Linked DNA regions of Homo sapiens: region 1 is linked to region 2. The links are contacts of gene promoters, found by promoter capture Hi-C in blood cells and fetal thymus (Javierre and others, 2016). All regions are on one chromosome and are shown on one strand. The core of a region is centred on a gene start or on the middle of the fragment in contact, and the rest is flanking DNA. Distances in the headings are between cores, read along the strand shown.

Region 1 (6,315 bases), core at 795-3,294, 410 kb before region 2:
GCCCGGCGGGCGCGCCGCAGGGGTGCGGGGAGGGTGCCTGCTTACCCCGTCGGTGCGGGGCCTCCCCGGGCCCCTCCGCTCCACCATCTCCGGGCCCGGGGCCGTCGCTGCCACCGCCGCCGCCGCCGCCGCCGCCTCCACCGCGCGGGGCTTGGACATCTTCCTGCCTGGAGAAGGGGACCCGGGGGAAGCGGGGGAGGGGGCGCTCAGGGCGCGGCGGGGCGGGGAGCGGGGCCGCCCGGGCCGGGCGCCGCGACGGCGCCTCCCGCCGCAGCCATATTTCGAGGCCCCGGCTCTGGTGAGCCGCCCGCGCAGCCGGGAGGGCCGGGCCGGAGCCCGCGTCGCCCTCCCGCCGCCCGGCCCGGCCAGGCCCCGCGCGCCGCCCGCCCCCCGCGCGGCCGGGCCCGACACACCCACCTGCAGCCCGGCCAGGCCCATGGCGGCGCGCCCCGCGCCCTCGCCGCCGCCACCAGCGCCGCCGCGGCGCCCCGGGGAAGGGCCGGCGGCGCCCCACGGCGCCCCCTTCCCCCATGGCCGGCGAGGCAGGGCCCGGCACCCGCGCACCGCGGCAGCCCCGGGCCGCCCGGGGCGAGGCACGAAGGGAAGGAGGCGCAGGCGGCGCGTCCTCCGCAGCCCTCCCGCCCGCTCGCAGCCGCCCACCGTCCGGCGCCCGGCCCGGGGAGGGGGCTGGTAGGGGCGGCGCCGCCAGGCCGCTCCGGAGGGCGGGCGGGCGGGCGCGGCGAATCCCGGCTCGGGCGCGCCCCCTCTCGCGCGGCCTCAGCCACTCGCGGAGGAAGGGGTGGGAAACACCGTCATGACAGCCCAGGCTCCCGCCCGCCCTCCCGCCAGCCCGCCCGGCTCCTTTTTCCGCTGGCTCTGCGGATATTTTGGGAACCCGGTCTGTGCCAGACGAAATCAGCAGCGGTGAACGCGCCAGGCCAGGCCCTCGGGTGTGCCCGGCGCTGTGCCCACCGAGAGTTTCACAGGCATTGAATCCTCCCCGCACGCCCACGGGGGCAGGTCCTGTCGGCATCCCAGCTTACAATGGTGACACTGTGACTCAAGGGATGTGCAGGGGTTTGTCCCGGGCCACAGAACTAGGAAGTGATGGGGCCAGGTGTCAAACCCAGAAGGGCTGTACTTGACCGGTAGGAAGCCCTGGGGAGACAGAGCCAGGGGTTATAATGATCGGTTTCCTGGGCGAGTCTCTTGCCGTTATCTCACTGAAACCTCACAGCAGCCCTGCAAAGGTAGACACCATTATTATCTCTTTTCAACAGATGGAGAAAGTGAGGAGCTTGGCCAAGTTCTCAGAACTAGATGGGTTTTCAGCCCCAGCCAACTGACCCCAGGGCCTTGCCCTCCCAGCCACTACCCTTCCTGGTTACAGATGAGGAAATGGAGTTTGGGAGAAGCAAATGGTCTTGCAGAAGGGTTTAACATGTCACCTTGTTCTCCTATCCCGCCGTGAGAAAATGCCCCCATAGGCAGACGAGGTTCCCGTCACTCTGGTGGCTGTTTCAGCATAGCTCACTGCCCTGCACCACTACTCTGTGGCCATTAAGGCTTGAGGGCCCACAGCCAGATTCACTGTATTTGTGCAAAGTCATAGATGCAAACAAGACACTTCAAGGCATCCAGCTCCTGCAGCCTGGCCCATGGCCTGGGAGTCAGGGGCTGGACTTATTTCCCTGCATCTGCCCAGAGGTGTTTTGTGACCATCGCCAAGTCACTTCCCCAGTCTGGGCCTCAGTGTCCTCATGGGTAAAAACCAAGAACCTTGAATTCCATAATCCACCAGAGCACCTTCCAACATCCACAGATAAGCAAATGGCTGTTTGTAGCCATCCTCCCACCTAGCCTCCCTCGACTCCCATTGGAACGGATAAGACTGAGTAGGATTAGGTGGTGACAGGTCACTGCTCAGACAATCCCTCCCAAATCAGCTCATGCTTTAGCATCCTTCAAGGCAGGGTCTCCAGCCCAACCACTAACTCCAGTGGGCTAGGTACTCTGCCTATGCCCTCTGCAGAGCCTACTACAGTTGAATATCCAAAAGATTACCCAGAGGGTGAAAGAGGATTCGAAAGTGACACTCTGATAACCAGGTTGAGCCATTTGAAAGCGTCTTCTATTTCTGCAAGGCAGAGAAGTTTTGCAGCTTAACTGCCATGAGAATCATGGTTTTGGAGCAGGAAGCACCCACATAGATCATCTTATCCATTTCACATTCTAGTATACCGAGCCACACCCCACGCCCCACTCATGGTCATAGCTTTCTCTGCATTTGAGCCCCCAATTGCAGGGGACACATTACAAGTCTAGCACCTATTCCTCTCAATTCTGCAGCTCCAGTACCTAGAAGATGTAAATACAGATCATTCAATGTAAGTTTCAAAACAGTCCTTTCTCCGCAAGTTTATACGTATATAACAAATACACCAGCTGGGCGCAGTGGCTCACACCTGTAATCCCAGCACCTTGGGAGGCAGAGGAGGGCAAATCACCTGAAATCAGGAGTTTGAGACCAGCCTGGCCAACATGGCGAAACCCCGTCTCTACTAAAAATACAAAAATTAGCTTGGCGTGGTTGCGCATGCCTGTAATCCCAGCTACTTGGGAGGCTGAGGCAGGAGAGTCACTTGAACCCAGGGGGGTGGAGTTTGCAGTGAGCCAAGATTGTGCCACTGCACTCTATCCTGGGTGACAGAGTGAGACTCTGTCTCCCAAAAAAAAAGAAAAGTCTGTATTTTTGGAGACCCCCCCACCAGGTGCTAAGGGATAATGAACTGAAGATGGCAAAATGAGGAGGGCAACCAACCAAGAGACCATTCAACAATGGCAGTAGAAATAGTGAAAGGTAGGTGGACTGACCCCTGAGACTAATATATTGGGGTTGTAAATATTTGCATGATTATAAAACTTCAAAATGAGTGAGGTGTTGCCTGGCATCTGACCAGTTTGTTTCTGTGACCCAGCAGGGCTCTCAAAGTGAATTGCAAGTTCAAAGCCCAATTTTCTAGAAGAAAAAGACTGTTCATTTGAAGTGCTGTAAATGATTTGGTATTTACAATTCTAAATATTGGCCAGGCGTGGTGGCTTTTGCCTGTAATCCCAGCACTCTGGGAGGCCGAGGTGGGCAGATAACCTGAGGTCAGGAGTTCAAGACTAGCCTGGCCAACATGGCGAAACCCCGTCTCTACTAAAAATACAAAAATTAGCTGGGTGTGGTGACAGGTGCCTGTAATCCCAGCTACTTGGGAAGCTGAGGCACAAGAATCACTTGAACACAGGAGAGGGAGGGTGAAGCGGGCTGAAATCACTCCACTGTACTCCAGCCTGGGTGACAGAGAGAGACTCTGTCTCAAAAAAAAAAAAAAAAAAAAAAATCTAAATCTAAATATCCAATTTAATAGCTTGCAAGGGCAGTAAAGCCTAAGAAACAGGTAACTACTAATTTGGGGGTCAAGTGAGACAGTGAGAATCAATAACTAATAATTACATAGGTGATTTGTAAGCTGCCATGGGAGGAGCTGACAAACATTATCTTCGCTTTGGGTAAGTAAGGGAGGTTGGGTGGCACAAGCAAAGACCCAGCCAAGCTAGAGTCTGGACAGCAAGTTTGGACTTCACGCTTCCTCTTCCAAAAAATGAGAATAACAATTTGTAAAGATCAATTGAGTTAATAAAGTGCCTGGCCCTCAGTGGTAATTATTATTATTTTGTTATTGTTCTTGTTTGTTTTTTTGAGATGGAGTCTTGCTCTGTTGCCCATGCTGGAGTGCGGTGACGTAATCTCGGCTCACTGCAAGCTCCACCTCCCAGGTTCAGGCAATTCTCCCTGCCTCAGCCTCCCAAGTAGCTGGGATTACAGGCATGCGCTGCCATGCCCGGCTAATTTTGTATTTTTAGTAGAGACGGGATTTCTCCATGTTGGTCAGACTGGTCTCGAACTCCCGACCTCAGGTGATCTGCCCGCCTTGGCCTCCCAAAGTGCTAGGATTACAGGTGTGAGCCACCATGCCTGGCCATAATTATTATTTAGTCATATTTTAAGTATTTCAATGATAGATGGTTAGTTTTCTTCATATATTAATTAATGCACTACTTTTAAAACAAGTAGTTTAAATGATTTTGCTGTGATGAGAAAAATGAACCCAGGAAGCATAGTTTTATTAAAATTTGTCAGATAAATTAGTCAGATAATGTTAAATATACTTTTAGATGCTTAACACTTTTCAAAGGAAAAATATTAGTATTAATTTTCTCCAAGAGTTGAGTGATGAAGCTCTTTAACCTGAAGTTTACTATGCCTCATTTTTTCATCAGGCTCTGGGTAAGTCTTATCCCAAAAGAACCTCTAGGGATGCTAGGAGAATAGATGATGCAACTGACTTCAGGGCCTGAAAACAAAGGGACCCAATAGATATTTACTGAATGAATCATTATTTTATTCATTATTATTGCTATAGGGAGCATACTGCACTAAAGCAAATTCCTACTAACACTTGAAGCCTTGAAATTTTGAGAAAAATATAATACCAAAACTTTTTTTTTTTTTTAATACTAATTCTACTCAACTTTCACGCTCAAGTTTTTGGCCCTTTGGCGTGAAGGAGACGCAGTGGCTGGAAATGACCAAGCGGTTGGAGATCTCTTTGCCGCATACCTGGGAGGCACTGTCCTGACAGCCAACTAAGTATGCAGAGGACTTCAGACAGGGCATCGCCTCCCAGGGCTGTACAAGCCCACCCAAGCCATCTACCGGGGGGCGAAGTCCTGACCAGATGCGGGGCGAACGACCGCGCCCGCGAGATGCCAGGAACCCGTTTTACCCCAAAGTGGGCCAGCGGGGCCCGGCCTTCGCTCCAGCGGCGCAGAGCTGACTCAGGACGTGGGGAGGGAGGAAAGGCGCCTGCTGCGGTGTCCACCCTGACGCGCACCCCAATATGCAGGTTATCGATCTGCGCCTTCGCCTCGGGATCACCTCCTTTCCCAAAGAGAGAGGGCCCCAAAGTGGGCGAAGCCTCACTCCTGCCCCCGCCCCACTTCTATCAATAACACCTATTCCCTGGAGGTGCCCTGCGCTTTAGTTTCCAAAGAGCTCTGACATATGGATCTGCTGCCGTGGAGAGGCAGGCCCGCAGGTGTTCACTTCATAGAAGGGAAACAGAAGCACGGCAGTGGGAAGGGTTTCTGGGGGCATCTGGAGCCGCAAGGGGGGGCCGGCGGGTTCCGCAGCAGCACCCCCTCTCCCCCCACGCGGGTCCCCAAGCTTGCCCCGAGCCACCCGAGGAGGACGCCTCCCCGCAGCCGCTGCCTCCACCCCGGCAACCCCTCCAGCACGACCCCCGACCCAGCCGCTCCGGTGCCGGCCACTTGGGCAAATACCTCTAGCCATGGCTCCACTCTGTCACCGCCTGGGATCTCCCGGGAAACCCAGCTTTCGAAAAAAGTTGCAACAACTCAGCCAACTGCTCCGCCGGGCTCCAGCTGCTCGCCCCGATTGGCGCCGCCTCCCGCCTCTCCGCAGGCTGCCCGTAGTGATAGGCCAACTCGGAGAAAGGCCCCGCCCTTCTCCCGCCTCTTCGGCGGCGGGGCGTGTCCAGCCGCCGCAATAACTGCAAACGCTTTCCCGACAGGTCCCGGCGGAGGAGGTGGGAGGGGTGTTTAAATTTGACCGTCGCCAGACGTTGAATGGCTGCGATGGAAGACACCCGAGCTGCCATTGGGAGGCCCCAGATTCCTCCCCCTCCCGCTGCTGAAGCTCCGCCTCCGGAGCGTGAGTAGCCCGGCTGGAGCCCTGGGCTCCGAGCCGACCGGATCTGGGACTTCCGGTTCTCTGTGGGCTTGACCGGAACCCGACCTTTGACCCCTCGATCTTCCCTTAAGAGCTGGGAAACCTGAGTCTCCCAGCAGTTTAGCAACTCCAGCACACCGACCTCTCCAGCAGTTTGATCCATTCATTCTCAGGTTTGAAAGGTTTTGGCCGGGCGCGGTGGCTCATGCCTGTAATCCCAGCACTTTGGGAGGCTGAGGCGGGCGGATCACCTGAGGTCCGTGGTTCGAGACCAGCCTGACCAATATAGAGAAACCCAGTCTCTACTAAAAATACAAAATTAGCCGGGCGTGGTATCGCATGCATGTAATCCCAGCTACTCGGGAGGCTGAGGCCGGAGAATAGCATGTAATCCCAGCTACTCGGGAGGCAGAGGTTACGGTGAGCCGAGATCGCGCCATTGCACTCCAGCCTGGGCAACAAGAGCGAAACACTGTCTCAAAAAAAAAAAAAAAAAAAAAGGTTTATTGAATATT
Region 2 (3,140 bases), core at 107-2,606:
TGTACAGATGAAGAAACTGAAGCCCAGAACGCCAGACAGGGCCCAGGCTGGAAGCCAAGTCTAGCCTACACTCCTGAATCTATCTGGGTCAACTGCAAGTTCCAGACTGTTAGCTGAAAGGGACTTCTAGAAGGGGACCCATCCTGTTTCAGGCTGCCCCAACCTGAGCCTAGCTGGGATGAGAACCCCTAGATGTACCTCAACCATCTGGGCCCACACAGGGACAGGAGACAGTCATGGCCAAGTCCTGTGTTCCAGAGGTTGCTGAGGACTCTCCTGGGAAGCTTCCCACCACTGACTCCAGGGGAAGGAGGAGGAGGGAGTGGGGCAGCAGCCCTGGCAGCAGCCTGCGGGGTATATGGTAAGGTGTGAGGAGCCCAGGGGCCTGGAAGCTGTGGCTGGGATCACATCTGCTCCTGCTGTAAAAGCTTGGGCAAGGGATCCCTCTTTAAGCCTCAGCTTCTCAATCCAAAATGAGAGTGGTGCTTGTGCTTATCTCACAGAGCTGTTAAGAACGGCATGACTAGGCAACTTAGCAACTTAGCATTTCCCCTTCTCTCTCCTGGTGCCAAGACTCAGGTGTGGAGGGATGAGTGGGGGGCAGGAAGGAGGAAAGTGAGGGCCTAAGTGACCCTTCAGGGATCAGGGACTGAGGCTAGGCTCAAGCTGTGTCCTCAAGCTGCGGACACAAATCTAACGAGGAGGAGCTGTGCAGGGGCAGGGGACTGGTACCTCTGCTAACAGCTGCTGGAAGTCCTTGGCGCTAACACAGCCTCGGCTGCGCAGGATCTGGGAGCAGAAAGAACACTGAGCATGACTGTATGACCTGAGGAAATCCCTTCACTCTCTAAGCCTCAGTTTCCCCTGCTTAAAATGGGGAGAGGAGCCCCGACCTCAAAGGATCATGGAGAGAATGAACTGCGGAACCCTGTCAAGCTCAGGACAGGGCTCCGGGCTGGTGTTGCTGTGAGGCGGCAAGCTGAGCCCGGCCCTGTCCTAAGCACCCTACATGCTTGTTCATTCCTTCCTCACAATCTCACAGGGAGATACTATTACCCCTTTACGGTGAGAAAACCGAGGCAGAGAGAGGCCGTCATTCTTGTATTTGAAGATACGGTGCGCGGCGTGCGCAAAGCAAACGACCCTGGGGACGAACTTCCCTCCTCCACTACCCCTCTCTGCCCACTGCTCCGTAGGGACGACAGCGGCCACTCACCGGGCCGTAGTCCCGGCGCAGCTGCTGCTCGCCTCGGAAGCGCACGTGCAGCCCATAGCGCGCCACGTACAAGTTATCGGTGCAGAAGCAGGCGCAGCGGCAGAAGTGCCGCGGAGCCCCCACCGTCGCCATAGTGAAGCACCCACAGCCCTACCAGCTTCCGTAGAGAGACTTCGGGCACGCCCCCAACCGCGGGAGGCGCGGAACCAGCGGCCAAGGGGCCGCTCTAAGTTCCCAAGGGCGGAAAAGGACGAAGACGCACCTCGCCAGGAAACGGTCTGCGGAGAAAGATGCTCCTGGGCCGGGTTGGGACCGGCGGCCTCCTCGTTCCGCCTCCCAGTTTTCCCACTACGAGGCAGGGACTAATGGCTCCACTTTACAGACAGCTGAACTGGGTCGTGCCTTCACAGGACGGGGAGAGGAAGGGACTCGGAGCCCCAAGGCCTTTGACTTAAACGCCGACCCACCCCCCGCCGTCTGCCCGGAGCTCGTGGAGAACCAGCCGAGCTGAGGACAGTTTAAAGAGCTCGGAGGTCCGACTAGTTCCCGCTGGTGCTTCAATCATCCAGCCCTGTACGTTTCAGTTTGGATTTAGCATCTACCCCGGGTCCCTGCCTGGCGCTTCCGGTCCCTCCGCCACAGTCTGTTGGATTACCTCAGATTGCCCCAGTGAGTGTCTCCACCAAAACGCTCCGTCTCGCATTACTTCCGGTGGCGTTCCCAATGGACGCGGGAGGGCGGGGTCAGGTGTGGGAGGGCGACGGGGCGTGGTCTCACCGCAGCCAACAAATGACAACTCTTGCAGACCGAGCCTCTTCTCTCCCCGGACCTTTGCTCAGGAATCTACCAGCATTAAACCTTTGAGCTAGGTACTATTATATCACCGTCTTACAGATGAGGAAACTGAGACCCAGAGAGGCACAGGGACCCGCCGCAGGTCACACATCCAGTAAGGGGCAAATATGGCGTTTGAACCCTACAGAGTTCCCCAGTTAACCACCACAGGGCTTCTGGGAGTGGTGGAAGTATGTGGGATTTGGGGTTTTCTCGTGCAGAGCTGCCCGGCCCGAGAAGGTGTTTAACGTTTTACAGTCGTCTTGATTGCCCAGTGATAGTGAGAGGCCCTGCTATCTAGGAAAGGATCCATTTCCCCAGATCAATGTTCATTACCCGCCTAACTGCCCTTTTTCCCCAGGAGGCCCAGGGCAGGTCGGCTCCCCAGCCACCCACCAGGCAGGCCTGGCACATGCAGCACCCCACCCCACCCTCACCCCCTCTCCGTTTGCAGCAGTTTGCAAGATGAGTGTGTTGTACCTATCAGTTTATTTATTTGTTTATTTACTTTTTGAGATAGAGTTTCACCCAGGCTGGAGTGCAGTGGCGCGATCTCCGCTCACTGCAACCTCTGCCTCCCGGATTCAAGCAGTTTTCCTGCCTCAGCCTCCCGAATAGCTGGGATTATCGGCAGGCGCCACCACGCCCAGCTAATTTTTTTGTTTTTTGTTTGTTTGTTTGTTTGTTTTGAGACGGAGTCTTGCTCTGTCGCCCAGGCTGGAGTGCAGTGGCACGATCTCGGCTCACTGTAAGCTCTGCCTCCCGGGTTCACGCCATTCTCCTGGCTCAGCCTCCCGAGTAGCTGGGACTACAGGCGCCCGCCACCACACCCGGCTAATTTTTTATGTTTTTAGTAGAGACGGGGTTTCACCGTGTTAGCCAGGATGGTCTTGATCTCCTGACCTCGTGGTCCCCCTGCCTCGGCCTCCCAAAGTTTTTGTTTTTTTTTTTTTTTTTTTTTTTTTTTTTTTCTTTTTTTGAGACGGAGTCTCGCTCTGTCGCCCAGGCCGGACTGCGGACTGCAGTGGCGCAATCTCGGCTCACTGCAAGCTCCGCTTCCCGGGTTCACGCCATTCTCCTGCCTCAGCCT

What was found. The method cuts DNA at HindIII sites, captures the fragments that hold promoters and counts their contacts. A CHiCAGO score of 5 or more calls a contact.
Region 1: a fragment that was not itself captured here is called in contact with the fragment with the promoter of OGFOD2 in region 2 in 1 of 17 cell types (fetal thymus); the score reaches 5.0 in fetal thymus.

What each region holds. Positions count from the first base shown.
Region 1 is chr12:123,383,285-123,389,599 of GRCh38, reverse strand. KMT5A (lysine methyltransferase 5A) reads right to left here and starts at 5,468. Exons shown (of 8, transcript NM_020382.7): 1 at 5,392-5,468; 2 at 46-167. The coding sequence starts at 5,401. RefSeq lists silencers at 1-46, 467-826, 5,178-5,347, 6,275-6,315 and enhancers at 4,838-4,997, 5,838-6,057, 5,580-6,310. The HindIII fragment of the contact is 6,467 bases long and covers 1-5,277 here.
Region 2 is chr12:122,973,460-122,976,599 of GRCh38, reverse strand. OGFOD2 (2-oxoglutarate and iron dependent oxygenase domain containing 2) reads right to left here and starts at 1,356. Exons shown (of 7, transcript NM_001304833.2): 1 at 1,217-1,356; 2 at 733-789. The coding sequence starts at 1,348. It also overlaps a transcript of ABCB9 not described here. RefSeq lists an enhancer at 1,452-1,911. The HindIII fragment of the contact is 5,440 bases long and covers 431-3,140 here.